Linked DNA regions of Homo sapiens: all the other regions are linked to region 3. The links are contacts of gene promoters, found by promoter capture Hi-C in blood cells and fetal thymus (Javierre and others, 2016). All regions are on one chromosome and are shown on one strand. The core of a region is centred on a gene start or on the middle of the fragment in contact, and the rest is flanking DNA. Distances in the headings are between cores, read along the strand shown. Region 1 has its middle 15 kb from the start of MS4A4A. Region 2 has its middle 16 kb from the start of MS4A6E. Region 3 holds the start of MS4A13 (membrane spanning 4-domains A13).

What was found. The method cuts DNA at HindIII sites, captures the fragments that hold promoters and counts their contacts. A CHiCAGO score of 5 or more calls a contact.
Region 1: a fragment that was not itself captured here is called in contact with the fragment with the promoter of MS4A13 in region 3 in 4 of 17 cell types (total B cells, naive B cells, M1 macrophages and 1 more); the score reaches 8.5 in total B cells.
Region 2: a fragment that was not itself captured here is called in contact with the fragment with the promoter of MS4A13 in region 3 in 1 of 17 cell types (total B cells); the score reaches 5.3 in total B cells.

The regions. Positions count from the first base shown.
Region 1 is chr11:60,263,720-60,267,510 of GRCh38, forward strand. No RefSeq gene overlaps it. Among named protein-coding and RNA genes, the nearest start is that of MS4A4A, 15 kb to the right of the region's middle. The HindIII fragment of the contact is 168 bases long and covers 1,314-1,481 here.
Region 2 is chr11:60,341,466-60,345,053 of GRCh38, forward strand. It overlaps a transcript of MS4A6E not described here. Among named protein-coding and RNA genes, the nearest start is that of MS4A6E, 16 kb to the left of the region's middle. The HindIII fragment of the contact is 1,767 bases long and covers 1,309-3,075 here.
Region 3 is chr11:60,513,199-60,516,792 of GRCh38, forward strand. It overlaps MS4A13 (membrane spanning 4-domains A13), which reads left to right and starts at 2,194. Exons shown (of 7, transcript NM_001012417.3): 1 at 2,194-2,409; 2 at 2,771-2,886. The HindIII fragment of the contact is 9,060 bases long and covers 918-3,594 here.

The DNA.
Region 1 (3,791 bases), core at 148-2,647, 250 kb before region 3:
TTAGTCGGAATGTACAACAATTATGCCCATGAGGCAATTTCATGGCATGGCATTGGTATATTTGCTTCAGGGCTAGAGTGACAGTCAAGTGAGGAAGACTGAAGCCGAAGACTGAACATCAGAGTTATACATCTTGACATCCTTTGTCCTTACTTGTATTTTAAAAACCCAGGCCCAGATAACTCCAACACTCGGTTTCTCCTATATCTGACATTTGGAACCTTGTATTATTAGTTCAGAAGAAGTACTGAAGAGGCCTCAGTGCACAGGCTCGGGACTGATCCTGTAACAAAGGTGATCAGATGACACCCAGGCCCAGCTGGTCTCAGCCAAATGGCTCAGGGTTGACCCTAAATATGGAAAACCAGAGAATCAGGACTATGGCTGCCTACCATGCCCTGAATAACCAGTTATATGGATTGTCATCTGGTAGAAATCCTATGCAGGGGGTGTTAATGTCATCCTTTGTGGAGTCTCTTGGTTGGATCTTCAACCACTTAATATTTTCATCAAGAATTTAGTTGCTGATCCTATTTGCAAATGATCCAAAAACAAGAAGTATAATTTATAAAACGAGAGTGTCCAGATTGAAGATACAACCCAAAAGTCTGGAACATGAGCGTTGGAATACAGATCAAATTTAATCAGGTAAAATTAAAGTCCCAAGCTTATGTTTAAAAACAAATCACCTGCACAAACCTGAGATGGGACTAGAACTTGCTTAACAGAAGTTAATGTGAGAAAGGCCTGGGCCCTTCTACTAGTTAGCTGAAAGGATGGAGACAGAAGCAAAAGACTCTCCAAGAAGTCTGCCTTTGCCTCTAGAGCAATGGATCTCAATCTTGTCTGAGCATTGGGATAACTTGGGAAACTTTAACACGTACTAACACATGAGCCCCATTACCAGGTATTCTGATTTAATTAATATGGATTATGGTTGGAGAGTCAAAATTTTTTGTAGCTCTTTAGCGGATTCTACCGTATAGTCAATGTTGCCAATTACTGCTATAAGCCTGTAGATATCAAACTTGAGTGTGTATCAAAATCTGGAGGGCTTCTTAAAACACAGAATGCACACCGAGACTGTCTGATTCAATAGGTCTGGGGTAGGGTATTTGCATGTCAACCACAATGTCAGGTGATACTGATGCTACTACTCTGGGAACCACATTTTAAGAGCTACTGCTCTAGACGAACCTGGAGTTCTCCAGATGCAACTAAAGGCTTTTTAAATTCTACCGCTGGTATTGAGCCAGAATGCATAGAACCTGGCCCTGTGCCTATCTTCTCTTCTGAGTAGGATTTATTCCATAAGCTTTGGCCTTCTCTTTACATCTTCATATCTGTGTCTGGAGGGTAGGGCCAAGTTGGACTTCGGGATACTAAACTGAGGCCTTTTATTGTAAGGACAGAGAGTAGGATGTGATGTCTTGATGCTGCTTCAGGTTACTAGAGGAGACAATGATCTCAGTTCAGAACCAAGCTTAAAGTTATATATCTCTCGGGGACTATTTGTCCCAGGAATGCAAGCTAGGATTTACTTTTCAATCTTTCCCCAGTTTCTTTCCCAAAAGTAACATATCTTTGGGAAGAAATTAGGGTAAATGAGCAATGGTAAGCTCAAATCCTGGCATCAGGAAAATTCTCCTAGCACTCATGGTATGGCCTGTTCACCACTGACCACAAAGACATGTAGAAGGTGGTGCACAATTTTCAGGAGTCCAGAAATACAAACAGTTCTCTTAATACTTGCTCTGTAGTCTCAATTGTTGTCATCTCTTTCCACACACACATGCATGCACACACACGCACACACATGCACACAGGCAGTTCTTACAATATTGAGATGCTTTGCTTAGACTGGGCTGTATATAAGAGACCTGATTTACATCTTATAAAAATAGAACATCAGAGTTAGAAGAGACGTGGAAATCTTTCTACACTGAAATATGAGAAGTCTGTGGCCCAGGGAAAGAAAGTGATTCACGTGAGTCATGAAGGTAATGAATGTATAACCCAGTTTTTCTGTTTTTCCTATTATCCCCTTCATTTTGACATTGAGGTGTCATATTTAATTGAGCCACAAGAGGGAGGCAGTGGACAAGAAATTGTCCTACCTAATTTGAATTCCTACCTAATCTGGTGTCTTCTGGGAAGACCTTATGAAAAGTCAACTCCCAGCTCTGGTCTTGTATACTAGCGCTGGGTTGGGTCCCATTTCTATCCCATATTCTCTGGGAATCTAGTAGATACAGCAAGTCATCCCTCTGACCCTTAGCTTTTTCATCTGCTAAATTTTGTAGGTATTATTTAGATATTATTACTTATATTGAAAGGTGTTAGTGAGGATACCTGAGAATGAATTTTCAAAACATCACAAGTTGATTTTCAAGATAGTATTAAAGTGCTTTAATTTCAAAGGGTGCTTTTTGTACCATCCTAACTTTATACCACTTTTTTGTCCACTCCCACCCCATTCTCTGCACTCTGGTGAACTGAAAAACATATTTTAGATTTTATCTAATTGTTATTTACTCTACTCTCCTCTCCCTTCTCCTGTCTTTCCCCACATTCTGTAAAATGTGAGCACATGCATGATGGAGGAGGGTGTGGATACAGCTAGAGGGAGAGGTTGAGACTGCACATCTCACCTGGTCTCATATTCTGAAAAATCTGGGTTATAAATGGCACACCAGAGACATTACCATGCCCTCCTCTCTGCTTTTTGGAACATGGATCTTATTGCAGAAGGTGAGGGTTTGGGAAGGCTTCGGGATGAGTGGCCAGGTGGCAACATCTGTGCCTGGCTTCTTCCCTTCTTGGTGGAACAGCCACTGGCCTCTCATAAGGGAAATAACCTGAACCAGCCCGACCCTGAGAGCCTCCCTCATGGTGTTGGACTTATAGATCACACATTAAGGAAATATGTCCATGAGAGATTTTAGGATGACTCATATGGTTTCATGGATCTAGAAGTGACTTTGAAAGTGAATGAACCAACCTAGTAGTTTCTAGTGAAGCTGACTGATGGAAATGAACCAAGCATTTATTTTCCAATGCCATAGAGTGGATCGGTGAAAGCTGGGTGGAGAGAGGATTAAAAGAAGTGAAATAAAGTTAGGACTTCTGAACGTTTCTCTAATACCCATTCCCATCATGGTTGGGCCAGTACCATTTTTGGAGTTTTTGTTTTGTTTCTCTTTCCCTTTATTTTACACAGTATAGAAATTCACTGACTACTCCTCAGATTTTTCCAGTCCTGCCTCCCCAGAGGGACTCACATCCCTTTTCATGGCAGTAACCACCTGGTGTTGCTCGAGCACCTCCTAGGATTCCCACTCGTTACTCAAAATGGATAATAAAGAAATTTTCTCAAACGCAATTTAGGTGAATAAAATTTAATCTAATAATATGTGTGAACTATTCTTCTGAAATAATAATGCTGAGATAATGAGTGGAACCACGCATTTATTTTCTTGAACCTGATAATACAAATCCCTAGCAGTTATCTGGACCAACAAGTGGTAAGAGCAGAGGTCTTGAGGTGAGCACGTTCCATGCTTCTGAGGAAACAGTACGTCTGGAGACACATTGAGACTGGAATAGGGAGAGGAGAAGGCAATGTTGTCTGAGATTTCTGGGGGGCTGGATTATAAAGCGACTTATTAAGGAGATACGGCTTATTTTGAGTGAGGTAGGAGGCATTGGAAGATTTTCAGCAAAGGGAAGACAGGATCTAACTTGCATCTTAACAGGACCACTCTGGCTGCCTGTCTTGGTAAGAACCGACT
Region 2 (3,588 bases), core at 942-3,441, 170 kb before region 3:
AATGCTAACCAGGAATGCTTATCTGTTATGAAGAGACAACCAGTTCATACTTACGTCCTTATTTCAAAATAAAAAAGACGAATTGTTTGAGTATAACAAACATAAGCCTCACCTTGCTCATGCACACACACGCACACACACACACACACGTGTAAAAAAGTATTTCAATTTTATATGACCTCCATTTCTTTGAAAGATTTTGTCATATTTCCTTGCTCTGACCCTCTGTAGCAGGGGTCATACTTCATACTCACTGTCTCAGATATCCTGATACTCAGAGAGTTTCTCTGCTCTTTTTTTCCAGTCTCAAATGGAACTGTCAGTTTCTTTGATTTTAGCTTTATCTTCAAATCTGTTTCATTAGGTCTTCTCCCTGTCCTTTGCACCCCCCACTGACACACACCATTTCTTTTATTTATTTGCCTATTGTGGACATTCAACTTTTATTGATACTTATTGGATACCAGACACTATGCTTTTAATGCCAGGGCTACCAAAGTGAATAAGATACATGATTTGGCTTCAAGATATTTATAGTCAAATAAGGAAAACAGAGATGACAATGAAGTTAGGGATTTCGCTAACTGTTATTTGAGCACAGAATAAAGACACTAACTGTTATTTGAGCACAGAATAAAGAATATCATCTTCTGCCTAAAAGAATGTAGAGGATAAACAAGTGTGTGTGTGTGTGTGTGTGTGTGTGTGTGTGTGAGAGAGAGAGAGAGAGAGAGAGGGGGGGGGAGAGAAAGACAGAAAAGACAGAATGTACTTCCTTTGAAAATCCACCTCCCCACTATTAATCACATGGTGCCACCTTCCGCCACAGGAGAGGACCATTGAAGCATTGTCATTTGTCTGGGGTAATATCAGAGGTTCATTGTCTCATGCCAAGAAAATTGAAGACATGGACACACAAAGAGTGAATTTAAGAGCAGAAGTTTAATGGCTAAAAGAAAGAAGAGTGCTTCCTCATGCAGAGGAAGGGATCCCGAATGGATTTCTGGGTTTGGGGCAAGATGAGGCTGGTTTTATAGATGAGTCTGAGGAGGTCGTGTCTGATTTACATCAGGCATAGTAGATTGGTTGGACCAGATGTGCCATTTACATAGCATGGGAAGTGCTGGCCATCCCACACTAATCTTTTATTATGCAGATGGGGTCTCCACCTGGCCGGCACCATATTGCCTGCTTTTTTGCTGCACACATGGTGACAAAGAAAAGGGAAGAGGGAACCTCCATGCTTAATATATCTAGCTTCCAGGTATCCCTTTTCTATTGGCACAACTGCTGGCATTCACCTTTGCAAGCTTCCAGCTTGCTTATCTATTCTTGCAGCTGGATTTTTCAGGCTTCTTTTGCTAGACAAGAAATGATTTGGGGGCTGCTTTTTAATAAAAAGAAAATCTTACTGAGAACTCCCTTACCCTCACTAGCTACTTAAATAATTTCTTTTTAGCTCCTGTGTTATTTCTCCCCTCAGAAGTAGTAACCCTAACTGCTGTTAGAGGGTGTTGGACAGTGACTCTTTCTGACTACTTCCTGCTGAAAAGGGGCATCTAGTGGGGACAGCAGCTAGGGCTCCTCCTGAGTTCAATCTAACGGTCCTCAGAAGAAAGGCGTGTCCGTGTGTGGTTCTGCCTGCAGCACCATTTAAAGTTTGCTTCTAGGCCAAAAGAGATAAATTTTACAAGAAGGTTTAGAATACAGGGTTTGAATATGAGTATTAAGATTACCATTATTAGTGGGGGTACCATAGGCCATAACCATGCCAGTGGAGTTTGATACCTGTTAGCCATTTTAATGGCTTGTAATACTAGTTTGCCTCCACCAGGTGTCGCTTACTTTACTAGACGCGTTAATATAAAAGGAACCTTTTTTTTGCATAAGTGTCCCCCAATTATTAATTCTACTATAAAGATTATAATTAGACAGAATATTACAGCAATTAGAATTTTCCAACCGGAATTCCATATTGCAGGTGCCACAATGTATAGTTGTGTTGCAAATAGTAGAGCGCATGTATCAATTCCCGGAAAGGTGGTGTAGTAGATAATTTACGTCTAAAACTTTTACTCGCCAAGATGTAGAATTTCTCCTTGGGGTTCTATGAAGTTACAAATGTAATCCCATGTATAATTAAAATCTCCCTGCAAATATGTGTTAAAAAGAAGTGCTAATATCTGGCTGCGAATCTCGAGAGGAAATGTTGAAATGACAAAAAGTATCTGGTGAGTTAAAGGTGGGACTGAGTAAGATGGGTAGCCCTTACTTACTTACTTATCTTTTATGATTTTCAGCTTAAGATCTCCTATTTTTTGTCATTGATGTCCAGGACGTTCTTCTGGGCTGTCAGAGGTTGCTCTCTCAGCTTTCCAGGCTTTGACTGGAGTGTGATGTATGCAGGAATTAATACCTGTAACTTTTACTGCTGAGGGGGTTGAAAGAACAGTGTAGGGCCCTTCCCAGCTTGGGGTCAGGAAGAGAGAGAGAAGGGAGAGCTTTCACCAATACCAAATCTCCTGGGTTAAATAAAGGTGATCCTATTTCTTGGAGTTGGGCTTTTGCTAACTGTGTTAATTCCTGCTGGAAGTGAGCCAGAGAGGTTACATGCTCAACCAACTCAGAGATTTCTTAATTTAATAGAAAATCATTGGTAAGGAAAGACCATCCATACAGCATTTTAAAAGGGCTCACTTTGTCTGCCATTGTCACTTTGGAGGTATTTAAGTAGACCACAGCGGGGAGTTATTTCATTAACTAACACTTTATTACCTCAGATGCCTTTTCTGTATGGCATGAAAATGCTTCTAACCAGTTGGCGAAAGTATCTGTCCCTACCAGGAGATATTGGATGCCCTTCATCTTTGGCATGTGGGTGAAGTCTGTCTGCCAGTCCTCCCCTGGATAGCTTCCTATTCTTTGGGTTTGAGGAGGAAGGAGCCACCTGTTCAGGGGATTATTTTTAAGACAGATTTCACAAGCATTAACAACCTGTTTGGCTGTTTTTGGTAAGTTCTCTCCTGAAAACAATCTCTGGGCACATTGATGAGTTTTATCCTTTCCCAAGTGAAAAGCTTGATGGAGGATTTTAAGGACTTTCCATTGGCTAGAGACTGGCAAGTAGAGTTTGCCATCCTGACTGTAGCCATCCTGAGAGCTGGAAAATATACACTTGAGAAGTGGCCCATTCTATTTCTGCAGGGAAGTACTGAGGTTTAATTTCTTTATGGAACCTTCCCAGATTAGAGGGGCTTGAAGTCCATAGATGTCTTGAGGCTTCCTTGCTGCTGACTTAGCTGCCTGATCAGCTAACCTATTTCCTTCAGCTACTTCATCTTTTCCCTTTTGATGTCCCTTACAGTGTAGCACTGTTATCTTTCATGGAAGGAAAACTGAGGATGATAACCTGCTAATTTCCTGGTGGTTTTTGTTTGTTTGTTTTGTTTTTTTTGTTTGTTTTTTTGTTTTTTGTTTTTTGTTTTTTTGAGACAGAGTCTCACTCTGTGGCCCAGGCTGGTTGCAGTGGCACAATCTCGGCTCACTGCAAGCTCCACCTCCTGGGTTCACGCCATTCTCCTGCCTCAG
Region 3 (3,594 bases), core at 944-3,443:
AATGAAAATAACAATGGTATGTACATCATTGGCATGTGGTGAAGTTTAAATAAGCAATATAAGGTACTTAACATATTGCCTCAACATAGTAAATGAAAGGGAAAAAAAGCAAGATAAGTTTAAGCTATTAATTAGCATTTTACTAAAGAATAGTATATAAGTGATATAGTAAACATATGAAAACTGAAATCTACTATATATATGTGTGTGTACCAGCATATATATATATACCTACATACATATAGATTATACCTTACATAAATATACATATGTATGGACATTGCATTTCTACAATGAATTCAATTGTTTAGTTTCCCCAGTTTGCATAGATTTCCATTTTACTTTACTAGAACACCCTAGTGTTTACACAGAGGAAACATCTGTTTTCTCTAGTGTATAAATAAATAAAATTCCTCAAAGAAATCTGGACAAGTTATTTTATCAGGGCTCACAGCCAACAGGGTCCTTGTAATAATCCCCAACAATGGTTTTAACAACATTATATAGGCATTGTGGTTCCAGCACATTTTCACTAATGTCTTTTGTATACTGGGAACTAATTCAAGAGAAATTAACAATATGATCCACATGGAGAAATAAAAGTCATATTGGATGTCAAACCATGACTGATTGATTGCCTCTTCATTGCTGAAGAATACAGTTTTTAACAACCAAAGGATAAAAAATTAAAGTGAATTCTGAATTTCCAAATCCAGTTTATAGGTACTGAGAAAATCAATGTTGCTTTTACTGATCTGTGATATTAGCAGAAGAAATAAGATGTACCAAGGAACCATGCCTGTCTCATAGTTTGGCTCACTCTTCTATTTTTGCCTATGTTTATACTGAAAACACATTTTGGCCCCAGTCCAAAAAAATGACCAAATCCATGATAATTTCCAGAGACTGTTGGCCAAAGCTTAAATGAAGAAATATGTCACTTCTCTCACAAATAATCAATCAGTCTTGGCAGCAAGTTACAATAGCGGTCCATCTCATCAGAACTGGCTCTTACTACTATGGATTCTAAAAAATCCATAACCCTGAGGTTGAAGACACAGTTCCTCTTTCTACAGCAAAGAGAATGCTTAATATTATCGGAGCCCTGTCTGCTCATAGACAAGGAACTCACAAAATAATAATAATGCTAGAAACTGAAGTGGTATATTACTTAAGAATAAAACTATTACCTTCAATGACATACTGACCAATACAGAATGTAAAGACTTTAGAAGAGGCTGGGCTTTTTTTTTTTGTTTTTTTTTCCTTTGATTTGAGGGGACTTTGGAGTCTCAATGTAAGGAAGCTAGCTGTGAGACTAAAAATTAAGATTCTCAATTTACAGTTGATTTTTCAGGCTATAAAAGATCTTGATGGCTTTTAGACACACTCATGATTTAGCTTTTTGCAAATAAAGGTGTTGAAAGCATAGAAAATTTCCTTATGAAAGAAAAATCTGTCTTGTTTTCTGCGTGTTTTACTCACTGGCTATCATTGACTAAAAATTTACACTACAAGCTGGAATTTTAACTATTCCACAATGTCAATTTAAATTTTCCATGAATAAATGAGAAATGCCATTGAGTGGCTGTTCTCCAGGTACTTTAAACGCCTCAGTAAGTCATGATAGCTGCCTAAGAGGATGGTCTGTACTGCTCATCTAAAGCACCTCTTCATAAACACTGTTTTAACTACTGTCTACACCTCAAACAGAAAACTAACACCACGTGTCACCTAAAAGGTAAACCCGCCTCAGCAAGTGGATCAAAAAGTCATTCTGGTGTCTTGTTAAGTATTACTTTCATCACTAATTTCCTTCTTCAGTTACTTATGTTTAAAGAAAAAAAAAGTGAGCCATTGATTTAGCCACTTCACTCGAAAGTGCACCTTCCAAAGGTGCTCTTGTGGTCAAAATTTTTCTTTGAAGACAGAAAAGGTGAAGGGCGGACTTCTCCTCAGTGATCCTGGTCACTGTGCAGCAGGTGGGTGTATAAGAAATGCACCAATATGGGCAATCTCAGAATAGAGGTTTGCAGAAACCGTTCCTAGAGGCACCAAAACGTAGTTAACCGGGTGTCTGACCACATGGCTGCCAGGAGCCTAGTGAGTCTGCGCACACGCACTACCTCCGCCCCGGCAGTTCCTGAGTGGGTGCGCAGGCGCAAGAGGAGCACACCGTTGCCATTGCAGACCGTCACTCCCTGAGGAGCCTGAGAGCCGGCCGGGTGCTGGGCTCCTGGCTATCCCTGTGATGGTAGCTCAGCGAGATCTGGGGACCTGGCGCTGAGCGCGTTGCCAGCCGGGATCTTCCTCTTCATCTAGGCCTGGGCGCTGGCGTGAGAACTCGGACTGGGTCCTGGACGAGCGCCCCCCGAAACTCCTTGGAACCTTGAACAAGTAAAATGCAGGGTAGTGATGTCGCTTTGCTGGAGTGCTTTCGTGTCAGAAGCCATAAAGGGACACGGAGGCTGATTACGGTGTTCCTCTCCCTATCATACTCTGTAAACAGTAGGCACTATTTACTACTCAGAGATGATAGCTGTAAAATGCCGATATGTTTTAGTCATAGAGAGAGACTTTTCAGTTATGAAGGCTGTTATTCAGAACAGATGGATGAAAGTTGATGCCTCTAATATTAAGGCCTAGAAAGAAGAAAGAAGGCTATTGCTTCTGAATTTGGAGAGGTGGTGACTGAACAATAAGGAAAGGATCAAACTTACGTATTTTCTTCTAAGAAAATAATGTATATGTGCTTTGTACTGTTTTGTAGAAGTTTGCTAATAAAGACATCACCAAAGGTTAAAGAGAAAATCATCTAGAGGAAATGCTGGCAGTATGGCATGTGTTCTTTAACAAATCTCTACAGCAGATTCTCTCGTTTTAGGGGTAAGATTTCACTTTGACTAACTAAATTTAAGATCATGAACTATTTCATTTTTTTAACGGATATATTGGATCTAAAGGGGGACAGACTTGGTTAAATCAAAAGGGTAAAAGTTTTTTTTTTTTCAAATGTTGATTGTCTTCTACAAATTTTGACTGATCTCATGTTCCTTCATGTGCTGAGATATGGGGATACAGACTAAACCAACACACACAGGATAATAGAGAAATCCAAGTAAGGTTTAAAAGGAAAAAAGAGAGTACTGCACTTACATTTATGCAGTAGGATGATTATAAATTTGTCTCTTCTATTAAGTTATAAACATGTGAAGTTACAGTTTAGCTTTCTTAATGAACACCAAGGAATTATGAGTATCATGCTTTTTCACATCCAAAGGGGAGAAAACATTTCCACTCGTGAACTTTTCTTCTGAATTTGAATGTTGCATAGATCAATTATCTAAGTCGCCTATACGACTGTTCAGCAGAGGTTCTTAACCTCTTTGGGGTCACAGACCATTTTGGCATAGAATGAAAACTCTGAATCTTCTTTCCAGAATTATGTACATGTCACAATCCTTCGCATTTTTTTTCCCTGGGGGCAGGGGGTAGGCGGGTCTGACCTCCTGGAACTCATATTGATTCTAGATTAAGAATCATTTTTAAATAAGAAAACCTATCTTGTCCTTCTCCACACACTGGCAGTTCTTA